3 separate regions of the Homo sapiens genome follow, and regions 1 and 2 are each linked to region 3. Evidence: promoter capture Hi-C in 16 types of primary human blood cells and fetal thymus (Javierre and others, 2016). All regions are on one chromosome and are shown on one strand. The core of a region is centred on a gene start or on the middle of the fragment in contact, and the rest is flanking DNA. Distances in the headings are between cores, read along the strand shown.

Evidence for each region. The method cuts DNA at HindIII sites, captures the fragments that hold promoters and counts their contacts. A CHiCAGO score of 5 or more calls a contact.
Region 1: a fragment that was not itself captured here is called in contact with the fragment with the promoter of TMEM256 in region 3 in 5 of 17 cell types (endothelial precursors, total CD8 T cells, erythroblasts and 2 more); the score reaches 6.2 in endothelial precursors.
Region 2: a fragment that was not itself captured here is called in contact with the fragment with the promoter of TMEM256 in region 3 in 1 of 17 cell types (endothelial precursors); the score reaches 6.3 in endothelial precursors.

The regions. Positions count from the first base shown.
Region 1 is chr17:7,493,595-7,497,019 of GRCh38, reverse strand. It overlaps POLR2A (RNA polymerase II subunit A), which reads right to left. Exons shown (of 30, transcript NM_000937.5): 2 at 947-1,079; 3 at 674-810; 4 at 407-580; 5 at 1-256. Among named protein-coding and RNA genes, the nearest start is that of POLR2A, 11 kb to the right of the region's middle. The HindIII fragment of the contact is 1,762 bases long and covers 1,016-2,777 here.
Region 2 is chr17:7,475,860-7,479,068 of GRCh38, reverse strand. The region is part of intron 1 of ZBTB4 (zinc finger and BTB domain containing 4); the gene reads left to right. Among named protein-coding and RNA genes, the nearest start is that of ZBTB4, 2.2 kb to the left of the region's middle. RefSeq lists a silencer at 82-131. The HindIII fragment of the contact is 1,246 bases long and covers 1,229-2,474 here.
Region 3 is chr17:7,402,836-7,406,157 of GRCh38, reverse strand. It overlaps TMEM256 (transmembrane protein 256), which reads left to right and starts at 2,061. Exons shown (of 4, transcript NM_152766.5): 1 at 2,061-2,158; 2 at 2,469-2,500; 3 at 2,768-2,848; 4 at 2,949-3,183. The coding sequence starts at 2,074. The coding sequence ends at 3,092. TMEM256-PLSCR3 (TMEM256-PLSCR3 readthrough (NMD candidate)) reads left to right here and starts at 2,027. Exons shown (of 10, transcript NR_037719.1): 1 at 2,027-2,158; 2 at 2,469-2,500. It also overlaps a transcript of NLGN2 not described here. RefSeq lists a silencer at 1,253-1,582 and an enhancer at 2,073-2,252. The HindIII fragment of the contact is 6,317 bases long and covers 1-2,353 here.

The sequences.
Region 1 (3,425 bases), core at 647-3,146, 91 kb before region 3:
CAACAGCAGGCCGCACGGAGAGCGGGGGCACAGGCAGCACTGTGACAATCATCCACTCTGGCCGTGCATAGCGGGGCTCCATGCCCAGCACAAAACACTCCTCATCTGAGATGCGTTTGAAGATCTCATGCACTCGCTCTGGACTCAGCAGGATCTTCTTCTCCTGAGAGTCCTCATTAACGTGCTTCCATTCCGCATACAGCTCTAGGCCAGAACGCCGGATCCTGGGCTGGTACCGCCCACAGCCACCATGGCCCTTCCAAGGAGAGACAGGGGCCATCAGAGCCCAGAGGGTGGGCCATTTCCCTCCACACCAGGCCAGCCCCTCCTGTTTCCTTCCCTTCCAGTTTCCTCCCTCCAGGCCTCTGACCCCTCCTTCCCAAAAGTCTCCGCCAGCCCCAGCCACCTTTTCTTTGGTCAGATCCTCGTCACCCTCAGGTTGTTCCACACCGAACTTGTTGTCCATCTCCTCCCCACCCTCGCATATGTTTTTGCCCTTGCAAAGGTCGTAGACATGTGTGAGCCGCTTCTTGGGCTGTCCCTTGGACTTAGCCAGGATATCCTTGATCTTTGGGTTGTTCTGGGGACAGGGCAGAGCAGGGTCAGTTGAAGCTGTCCCCCTGCCCCCTACCAAGCACCCCCGCTCCCAGACCAGAGCCTGTTCCCCACTCACAGAGTCCACAAGCAGTTTGGAGCAGAAGAAGCAGACACAGCGCAAAACTTTCATTGTCTTCACCAGGAAGCCCACGTGAAACACAGGCTTGGCCAGTTCAATGTGGCCAAAGTGGCCAGGACACTCTGTCATGTTTCCTGTGGGACACACACCCAGTGCTTTCCTCCCAGCTCCCACTCATCTCAGAGGCCTCCAGGTGTCAACCGTCAGCCCTAGTTTTGAGGACCCAACCCACCTCCCCTTTGGGATCCCACCTGGCCCCCCAGCACTTACCTGCACATGTTTGGCAGCGGCCAGTCCGCTCAATCACCCCCTGCCTCGGGTCCATCAGCCCCCCAAGCTTGGGGCGGCCTCCCTCAGTCGTCTCTGGGTATTTGATGCCACCCTCCGTCACAGACATTCGCTTCTGCAAAGAAAGAAAGGCCAACAACTGAACAGCGTTCCTAGTTTCTAGCCTTTGTGGCTGGGGAGCTCTGGACTAAGGTCTGGGAAAACCCTGAACTACTTACAGAAGAACTAAGTTTAGCCTGGAGTGAGGGGAATGGGGGATTGGTGTGTGTACACTTCTGAAAAGGCCAAAGTTGAATATCCCAAGTCAGAGGCTTATTCCAGTCACTGAGGCAGGAAAAGCACTCACACTAGATAATGGTCGATCCTGGGTTCCATACAAATCACCTGCTACTGGGACATGAACCCCAGACTTCCATCTGGGTTGAATTCTAGGTCTCTGACATCCATAGGATTTAGCCACAAAAAGAAATCAAAGTTGCTTCAGGAAAAACAAAAAAACAAAACAATGCTTTATTTGTTCCTCCCAAGCAGAAATCAAGCTCATGAATCTGAGATCCTGGCAGAAGCCTCTCTGTACCTGTACCCTCGCCATGACAGCCCAGGTGTTCTGCACCAAGACATGCCCCGCCAACTCAAGCCCCTGATAAGAAACGAGGCACTCAGAGATGCAGCCCTGTTTCTTTTCCCTCATCTTTGTCATGCCCTCCTTCTCAAGGCCTGAACTGCTTGAACCCTTTCGTGTCCAGATGGAGATTTTATTATTGGTTTTGTTTTGTTTTGAGATGGAGTCTCGCTCTGTCGCCAGGCTGGAGTGCAGTGGCGCAATCGCAGCTCACTGCAACCTCTGCCTCCCGGGTTCAAGTGATTCTCCTGCCTCAGCCTCCCAAGTAGCTGGGACTACAGGTGAGCGCCACCACATCGAGCTAATTTTTGTATTTTTAGTAGAGACAGGGTTTCACCAGGTTGGCCAGGATGGTCTCTTGACCTCATGGTCCACCCGCCTCGGCCTCCCAAAGTACTGGGATTACAGGCGTGAGCCACCGCGCCAGGCCAGAGATTTTATTAAAAGACTGGAGAAACAGGTGCTAGAAAAACAGGTTGGTGGAAATGATTTGAAGCAAAAGTGAATAGCTGGAATCCCAAGAAAGGAAGAGCCAGGACTTGATGGGGACATTTCAATGAAGGAAAGGAGGAAACAGAAGAACTCAGAAGTAGATGGGCCGGGTGCGGTGGCTCACACCCGTAATCCCTGCACTTTGGGAGGCTGAGACGGGTGGATCACCTGAGGTCAGGAGTTTGAGACCAGCCTGGCCAACATAGTGAAACCCCATCTCTACTAAAAATACAAAAAAATTAGCTGGGTGTGGTGATGGGTACCTGTAATCCCAGCTACTCGGGAGGCTGAGGCAGGAGAATCACTTGAACCCAGGAGGCGGAGGTTGCAGTGAGCTGAGATCGCACCACTGCACTTCAGCCTGAATGACAGAGCAAGACTCCGTCTCAAAAAAAAAAAAAAATTGTAATGCTATTGTACACTTAGACTTAGTAGACTACAGCATAGTACTAATGTAACATGCACAATGGCAACCAAAAAACTCCATGTGACTTGCTTTATTGCGGTGGGCTGGAACCAAACTCACAGTATCTCCAAGGTATGCTTGGATACTCATTCTCAACTCTCTAATTCCAGGCCTTACTTTTCTTCTGGACTTTGGGTTCACGTATGTGACTACCTACTGAACCCCCTGCAAACATCACACCAAAAAATCAAATTAAACATGTTTAAAAGCAAACTCTCTTTTCCACAAAAGCTTCTCTTTTTCCTTTAGTCTCTATCCCAGATTCAGAAACCTATGCTTACCTTTCCTTACCTTCAAGCACAAAACAGTCCAAAGAACATGGACTTAGCTGTCGGGCACCCTTGCTTTGGAATTCTGCCTATATTACTTATGAACTATGTAACCATTAAGGACTTAATTAGCTTGCTTAAGTCCAGGATGTAATTGGCGCTTTATGAATGGACATTATTATTATTCAGTCATTCACCAGGTACTGGTCACTTTTACCTCCCTTTTTTTTTTAAGAAGTCTTGCTCTGTCACCCAGGCTGGAGTGCAGTGGCGGGAATCTCAGCTGGGTTTACACACATAAGCCACCACGCCTGGCCTCCTAAGTGTTTCTTGAATCTTGCCTCTCTTCTCCATCCCCACCACCATTGCCCTAGTTCAGGCCCTTCCTTTGTAGTCTACAACAGAGCGTTCCTATGGGTCACCAGCCTGTCTCTCTCCAATCCTTCTACATTACAACTGGGGTGCTCATTCTAAAATAAAAATGTGTGCTAAAAATAAATAAAATAAAAATTAATAATAAACTAAAAATGTAATCATTCATACCCTCTTGTCCTCAGACTGACATCCAAACTCAGCAGGACAGCTTCCCAAAAGGATTTTATGATGTTCTCA
Region 2 (3,209 bases), core at 602-3,101, 73 kb before region 3:
TGGGAGGGTGATGGCGTAGGAGCCAGGCAGAGAGGGGGAGGGGTGGGCCGCCGAGCGCCCCAGAGTTGGGGTGTGCGGGGTGCGCAGGGCGAGCTGGGGCCCCGGAACCGCCGCGCCGTCGGGGCAGGGTTGTGGCTGTGAGTCTTGGAGATCGTGTGTCTTGTGCTGTGTGGTGGGGCAAGGTAAACCTCTCCTGGGCACCACCGTTTGCTGGCAGCCAGGGGTCTGGGTAGGGCCCTCCCTGGGCCATGGAGATAGAAAGCCAGGAAGGGTGTCCAGTGTTGTGGGGCAGAGTTACAAGACGAGCCCTGTGGCTTTGGGTGACAGATGGGTATTCTGAGCAGGGCACAGCATGCTGGGTGCAGAGTTTGTTCGATGTGGGGCTGTATGTTTTCTACAGCATGTGTTTTCTCGCATGTGTGTCTTGTGCTGCACCTATGACCTGTTTATGAACTGTTTTCTGCAGAGCTGGCATGCTGTATGTGTTGCGGAGGGTGCCAGGATGCAGTGTATGTGCCCTTTTGGAGGGGGCGGTTGTGGGCCTTTGAGTCAGAAGGCGTCACGTCTGGGTCCCATTTCTGTGGCCCTGCTGAGGTGTGGTCCAGTGGTGAAGAGGGCGATGGATGGGTTTGCGTGTCTGTGATGAGCGCGTTGCATGGGGGCTGCGCGTCTAGAACTCAGATCCCAAAGATCATGAGAGGAGCGAGGAACCCCGGGGTATGTCTCAGGGGCCTGTGGGTCAGTTGGCACTGGTGTGAGGGGCTCGAGGTGGAATGCGCCAGTTGTGTTTATGGGATCATGGGCAGCCAAGCGAGGGGAAGGTTGTGTGTTTGCAACATTCTCCACAGGATTCTTTTGTGACGTTGTTTGTAGGAGCCTGTCTGGGCTGCTGAGCTGGGAGGCAAACTGGTCAGAAAACACATGTGGGGAGGGAGGTGGCGTGACAAGGGCAGTGTGGGCCTCAGACCCAAGAGGCCAGCCGCAAGCAGGCTGTGTGTGCGTGCCTGCCGTCTGTGTGCTTAAGTGGCGGTGGGGCTGCGGAGGGGATTTGGTATGAGGAAGGCGGGAGATAAATGCAGGGTAGCGCATGGAGGCCGGCGGGAGGCATGGGTGTTGTCAGATGGCCCAGCTAATCTTTGCAGGGTCTGTATGTTTGCCCCTCATGAGCCTGCCCAGCGTGTCAGGGTCACCCGGAGGAGAGGCTGGGCGGCCACAAGGGAAGTAAGCTTAGACAGAGAGGCTCCTTGGCCATGTTTATGTAAAGGCTGGGTGTGACTCTTGTCACTAAAATGGAAAAAAGAAACGTGAAGTTTTCAGCCTCCTCCTGCTTCACCCTCTCCCTCTCTCTGCCCCCCTTGTGGGTATCTCTGACGCACACTGGGCCCCACTCCTGCGACGGTGGAAGGGCCTCAGAACAGAATTCGCTCACTAGGCAGATTCCTCAGAACAGGTTTTCCTCACCTTTGGGGACTGGGCCCTTCTAGGGGTGTGTGTGCAAGTGCATTCCAAGCCTGCACACCACTGTCTACTGTGCCCGGCCCCACTGGAAGGATGTGTGTACGTGGGGGAAGGGAGGGTGCTGCGGACAGGCCCTCCGGCATGGGGGGCTGGGAAGGGGTGGCTGCCGTGGGAGCCTGCTCAACAGGTGCACAGTGACGGTCTGGTGAAGAGAAAGGAGCCATGGTCCAGGGCTGAGGAGCTCTGGCGTCTTTACCATTCCCTCACTGGCACTTGATCTGAAGGAAGCTCAGTTCCTCATCTGCAGAATGGGGCTGATTGTCTGCCCTGCGTATCTTCCAAAAGCACATGGGAAACGGACCCGGAAAGTGGCTATAGTCTGGGGGCTGTGCCTATGCCAGCCCCTGTCAGCCCTCCCCCAGGACTGGGAATTCCCTTCTTGGGGCTTCGCTGATAATAATGGCAGCACACACTTGCTTAGCACTGACCGTGCACCAGCCTGTCCTCAGGGCACTTATATGTGGCCACTCTGTCCTCAGAACAACACCCTGAAGTAGGCACTCTACCTCCCTTTTTCAAGTGAGGCAGCTGAGGTCCAGAGAAGTTAAGTAATCTGCCCCAAGTCACTTAGCTAGTAAGAGGTGAAGCTGTATTTGAACCCGGGCAATCAGGTTGAAGATCTTGTGCTCTTAACTACTGTACTCTGCTGCCTTCTGGAACATTCAGTGGATGGTCCTTTCTGTGCAACTCCCTCCAACACTCTTCTCCCCAGTTGCTGCAGAACTTAGCATTTGCAGCAGTCCATTTCAGAAGACCCGGATGCTCAGGGATCCCCAGCTGAGGGCATGAGAACCTGAGTCTCTGCTGCTGTGTAAGGTGGATGCTGGCCATAGGAGCACAAAAGGTTGATGAGTCAGAGGAAGGAATGATCGTTCTCATCCTGTGGATCAGGGAGGGCCAAGAAGGAGGTGGCCTTGGAGTCAGATCTTAACGTTTTGGAGGGATTTTGACAAGCTTGGGGAAAGAGCATTTCTGGCAGAACAAGCCAGCACAGGCAAAGGCATGAAGGTGTGGGTCATGTAGAAGCTGGAGAGCACACTGGGTGTCTGGGGTTTTGTTCATTTGTTTAGAAACTGGGTCTCAATATATTGCCCAGGCTGGACTCAAACTCCTGGGCTCAAGCAATCCTCTAGCTGCAGCCTCCTGAGTAGCTGGGACTATGGGTATCTGCCATCACGCCTGGCTCACGCTGAGTACTGTGTGTTTGAAGAGGATAACACAAGGCAAGATTAAAAAGGAAGATTGGAGCTAGACCAGAGCCCTTGACTGCCTGGTAGAAGAATTTGAACTTTCTTCTAGAGTCAGTGGGGACCAGTGGAGGTTTTGAGCCCAGGAGTGATAGTCCTGAACTGTGGTTAGGGACGTTGACCCTCAGGGGGAGGAGGGCTGGATGGAGGAAGGTAAGCCTGGAGGCCAGGGGATAGCTGGGAGGCCATAACCTTGGACCACGTGAGTGTTAACAAGGACCTGAGCTATCGAAGGGAAGATTTCCAGAGCCATTCCCAAGCTCGGCGGCGATTTCAGCCACACTTGATGACTGCTGGATGTGGAAGTGAGGGAAAGGGTGGAGTCAGACATGACACATTTAGCACTTAGCACGTGAGACCTTGTGCGGTGGTTTATGTAACCAGCTGGCGGGCCATAGGCCTCTTCAGGGCCAGGTCTAGCAGTATGGCAGAGGGAAAGATTGA
Region 3 (3,322 bases), core at 812-3,311:
CTTCTGTATCTCTCTCCTTGGTGTTTCTCATTTCTTTCTCTCTCTCCAAATGCCTTCCCCAAATTTCCCCCTTAAGCCTTCTGTCTCTCTCTCCTGTCTTTCCCCATCACTGTCTCCCCCATTTTCTCTCCTCATCTCTGTCTGCCACATCTTGCTCCCTCCTCCTTCTCCCTATCCCTCTGCCTTCTCTCTCCATTCCTGCCCAGGCCTGACTCCCCCAGCCGGGGAGAGTTGAGGGACGGGGGCTCAGGCCGCAGGCCCCCCCTTCCTGCAGTGGTGAAAATGGCTTGGCTGGGAAGGGGAGAAGGAGGGGGAGGGGGAGATGGGAACACACGGGGTCTGTGGGCCCATTCAAAGGATCATTCATGGACTGGAGAGAGGCAGAGACAAAGAGACCAAGACGCAGAGACACGGCGAGAGCATCCCTAGGCGGAGACACGCAGACAGAGCAGGCTGGGGGAAACCAGGCGCAGGGAGGGAGATGGGGAGAGGGAGACCCCAGTGGACCGCCACGCAGCCCCCTCCACCGACCCGGCTTAGGTCCTACCTGGCTCAGCCCTGGGGCCGTGGTGCCTCCATCCAGGGCTCCGAGTGGGGGGCGAAAGGCCTTCGGGAGGGGGCGGCGGCCTCTGAGCCCCCGCGGCCCCGCAGGCCCAGCCCCCGCCCGCAGCGCCTCACCCGGCGGGGGAGGGGGATCGCCCCAGCCCCGGGGGGCGGGGCCGGGATCCAGTCGATCCCCGGGAAAAGGAGAGCTAGGGGATGGGATCAGGGGGAGCCCGAGAACAGGGAACCCCGCAGTAGGGACGATAGAGAAAGGAGGGGGCAACGGGACAGGACTAGATTGAGGATCCGCTGGTTCCGTGGGCCGGCTTCGAGGGACCAGAAGGCGGTCCAGGCGGAGGATCCTAAGGATCGGGTGCTGGAGGAGGAGTCCACGTTAATCCCCAGGGGCCCGGGGCCCGGGAGCGCAGGATCCGCGGTGCAGGGGCAGGGATCCAGCCGGAATCCTCGGGGAGGGGGAGGGATCTAGTCGATCCCGAGGGCGGGCGTGAGGGGGAGGTCCGGGGAGTCAGAGGAGGGCGGGAGCCGAGTCCAGAGCCCCGGGGCGGGGGTCAGCGCGGATCCTAGGAGGGAAGGCGGGGGTGAGGGGAGGCTTCGAGGGACGCTCAGCAGCCGGGAGGCCCGGACTCCTGGCTCCGCGCGCCAGGGCCGGCCCGCCCCGCGTCCATCCCAGCCCGAGAGTGATGATCCGCCGGCGGAGCAGCCGCAGCAGCCCCGCGCGTCACCGCGCGGCCGCCTCCCCCGCCCCCTGCCGAGAGAGCGGCGCACACCCCCCGCTCGCACCCCCCGCTCGCACCCGCCTGCCCGCCCGCCCTCCGGAGAATGGGGGGATTGGAGATGGTGGGAAGAGGCGGGAGCGGACAGACGGACAGATGGACGTAGCGGGCCAGGGCAGGGTGGAGACATTCCCCCGGATCTCCCACCCTCGGGGCTCTCGCGGTCTCGGAGGGCTGGCGGGGGGGAGAATATCTTAACTACAGGGGGCGGGGCATCATACAAAGAAGGCGGAGCCTTCAGACATGGGGGAGGGGCCATTTGTGCAGTGGGCGGGGTTTACTGGCAATAGGTGGGGCTTTGCTATCTTTCGGGCCGCCTCTTTTTGGTAGTGGGTTTGATTTGAAGCTGAACAGGAGGAGCCTGTGGAAAAAGGGGCGGAACTTTGAGAGAAGACCGGGATCTTTGGAAATTGGCCGGAGCATGGGGGTGGGGGGTTCGAAGAGGCGATCAACTTGGAAAGTGGGCCAATCCTTGACGCAAATCCCCCTAGTCCCGCCCTCAACCCCGCCCCCCCACTGCTTAGCTCCTCTGTTCCTAATTGGTGCTGGTTTCTCCGCCCGCCAGACGTCTTCGCCACTCTGCAGCGGTTTTACAAAGGCGGGTGAAGAGCGCAATGCTGAAATGAACACGGCCCGGATTGGGCGCCTGTGAACCTTATTTGCATGGGCGGTCGGGATTGGCTGGCCTCTTGGGTGGCCTGGGCGGCGTTGGTCCGGTGCGTCCTGTTCTACAGCTATGGCCGGGCCAGCTGCAGCTTTCCGCCGCTTGGGCGCCTTGTCCGGAGCTGCGGCCTTAGGCTTCGCTTCCTACGGGGCGCACGGTCAGGGGGCTGGGGACGAAGATGGGACTGTACTTGGGGCGTCCTCTGGGGTCTGCTGCAAGGGCGTAACCTATGGGAGGTGCCCGGCCTCTCGTTTATCAGACAGTCCGCGGAGCCCTAAACCTTTTAAAGTCCCCCAGCTGGGTCCAATTGGTTCCCAGTACTGCCCGAGCGTGTTCCCACCAATCGGAAGCTTCCTGGGGCGGGGGGGGGGGTGCCCTTTCTCGCCAATGTCCACCTGGGTCCCCCCGGATTGGGGGCGGTCAGGGCTGGCACTAGGACCGCTAACCTTTGCTTCTTTTCTCCACAGGCGCCCAATTCCCAGATGCCTACGGGAAGGAGGTGAAGTAACTGCGCTGGGGCTCCCTGACTCGTGGGTCTACGAAGGCACAAAGTCTGGGGTCCCTGGGGGAAGTGGGCGGGGAGAGGGTGGGGCGAGCCGCGGATCTCTGGAGCAGCAAAGGCCAAAGGCTCTGTAAGCCAAAGGCCTGGGATCAAGCTGGGACTTCAAGGGTGGGGTGGGGGAAGGAACTTTGGTCCCTTGTGTCATCAGGGGATCTCAGTACCTGTATTGCCTACGACATCCCTTCGTTTCTGTTTTTCTTACAGCTGTTTGACAAGGCCAACAAACACCACTTCTTACACAGCCTGGCCCTGTTAGGGGTGCCCCATTGCAGAAAGCCACTCTGGGTAATCTTTCCCTGCGCCTAACCCTGACCAAGCCCCACACACTCCCTCTCAGCCTGCCCTGTTCTTAACAATCCTGTTTTCTGTGCTGTGTCTCCTTCAGGCTGGGTTATTGCTAGCTTCCGGAACGACCTTATTCTGCACCAGCTTTTACTACCAGGCTCTGAGTGGAGACCCCAGCATCCAGACTTTGGCCCCTGCGGGAGGGACCCTGCTACTCTTGGGCTGGCTTGCCTTGGCTCTTTGAGCTCCCTTTTGCTTAATTACTGGGTTTTCTGGGCAGTTTTTTTTTTAAAGAGTTGGAGTAAGAAGAGGATTAAAAAGGAAAGGCAAATAAACTTTGGAGTCTTTGTTCATCTAACCTCTTGGAGGACGAAGGGTGGGGATTCAACCTCTGAACTCCCTCCATTTCCTAAGACTTAATCAGTGAGCCTTAGGTCTGGGGATTCTGGTCACTTTAAGTTAACTTATTATAAT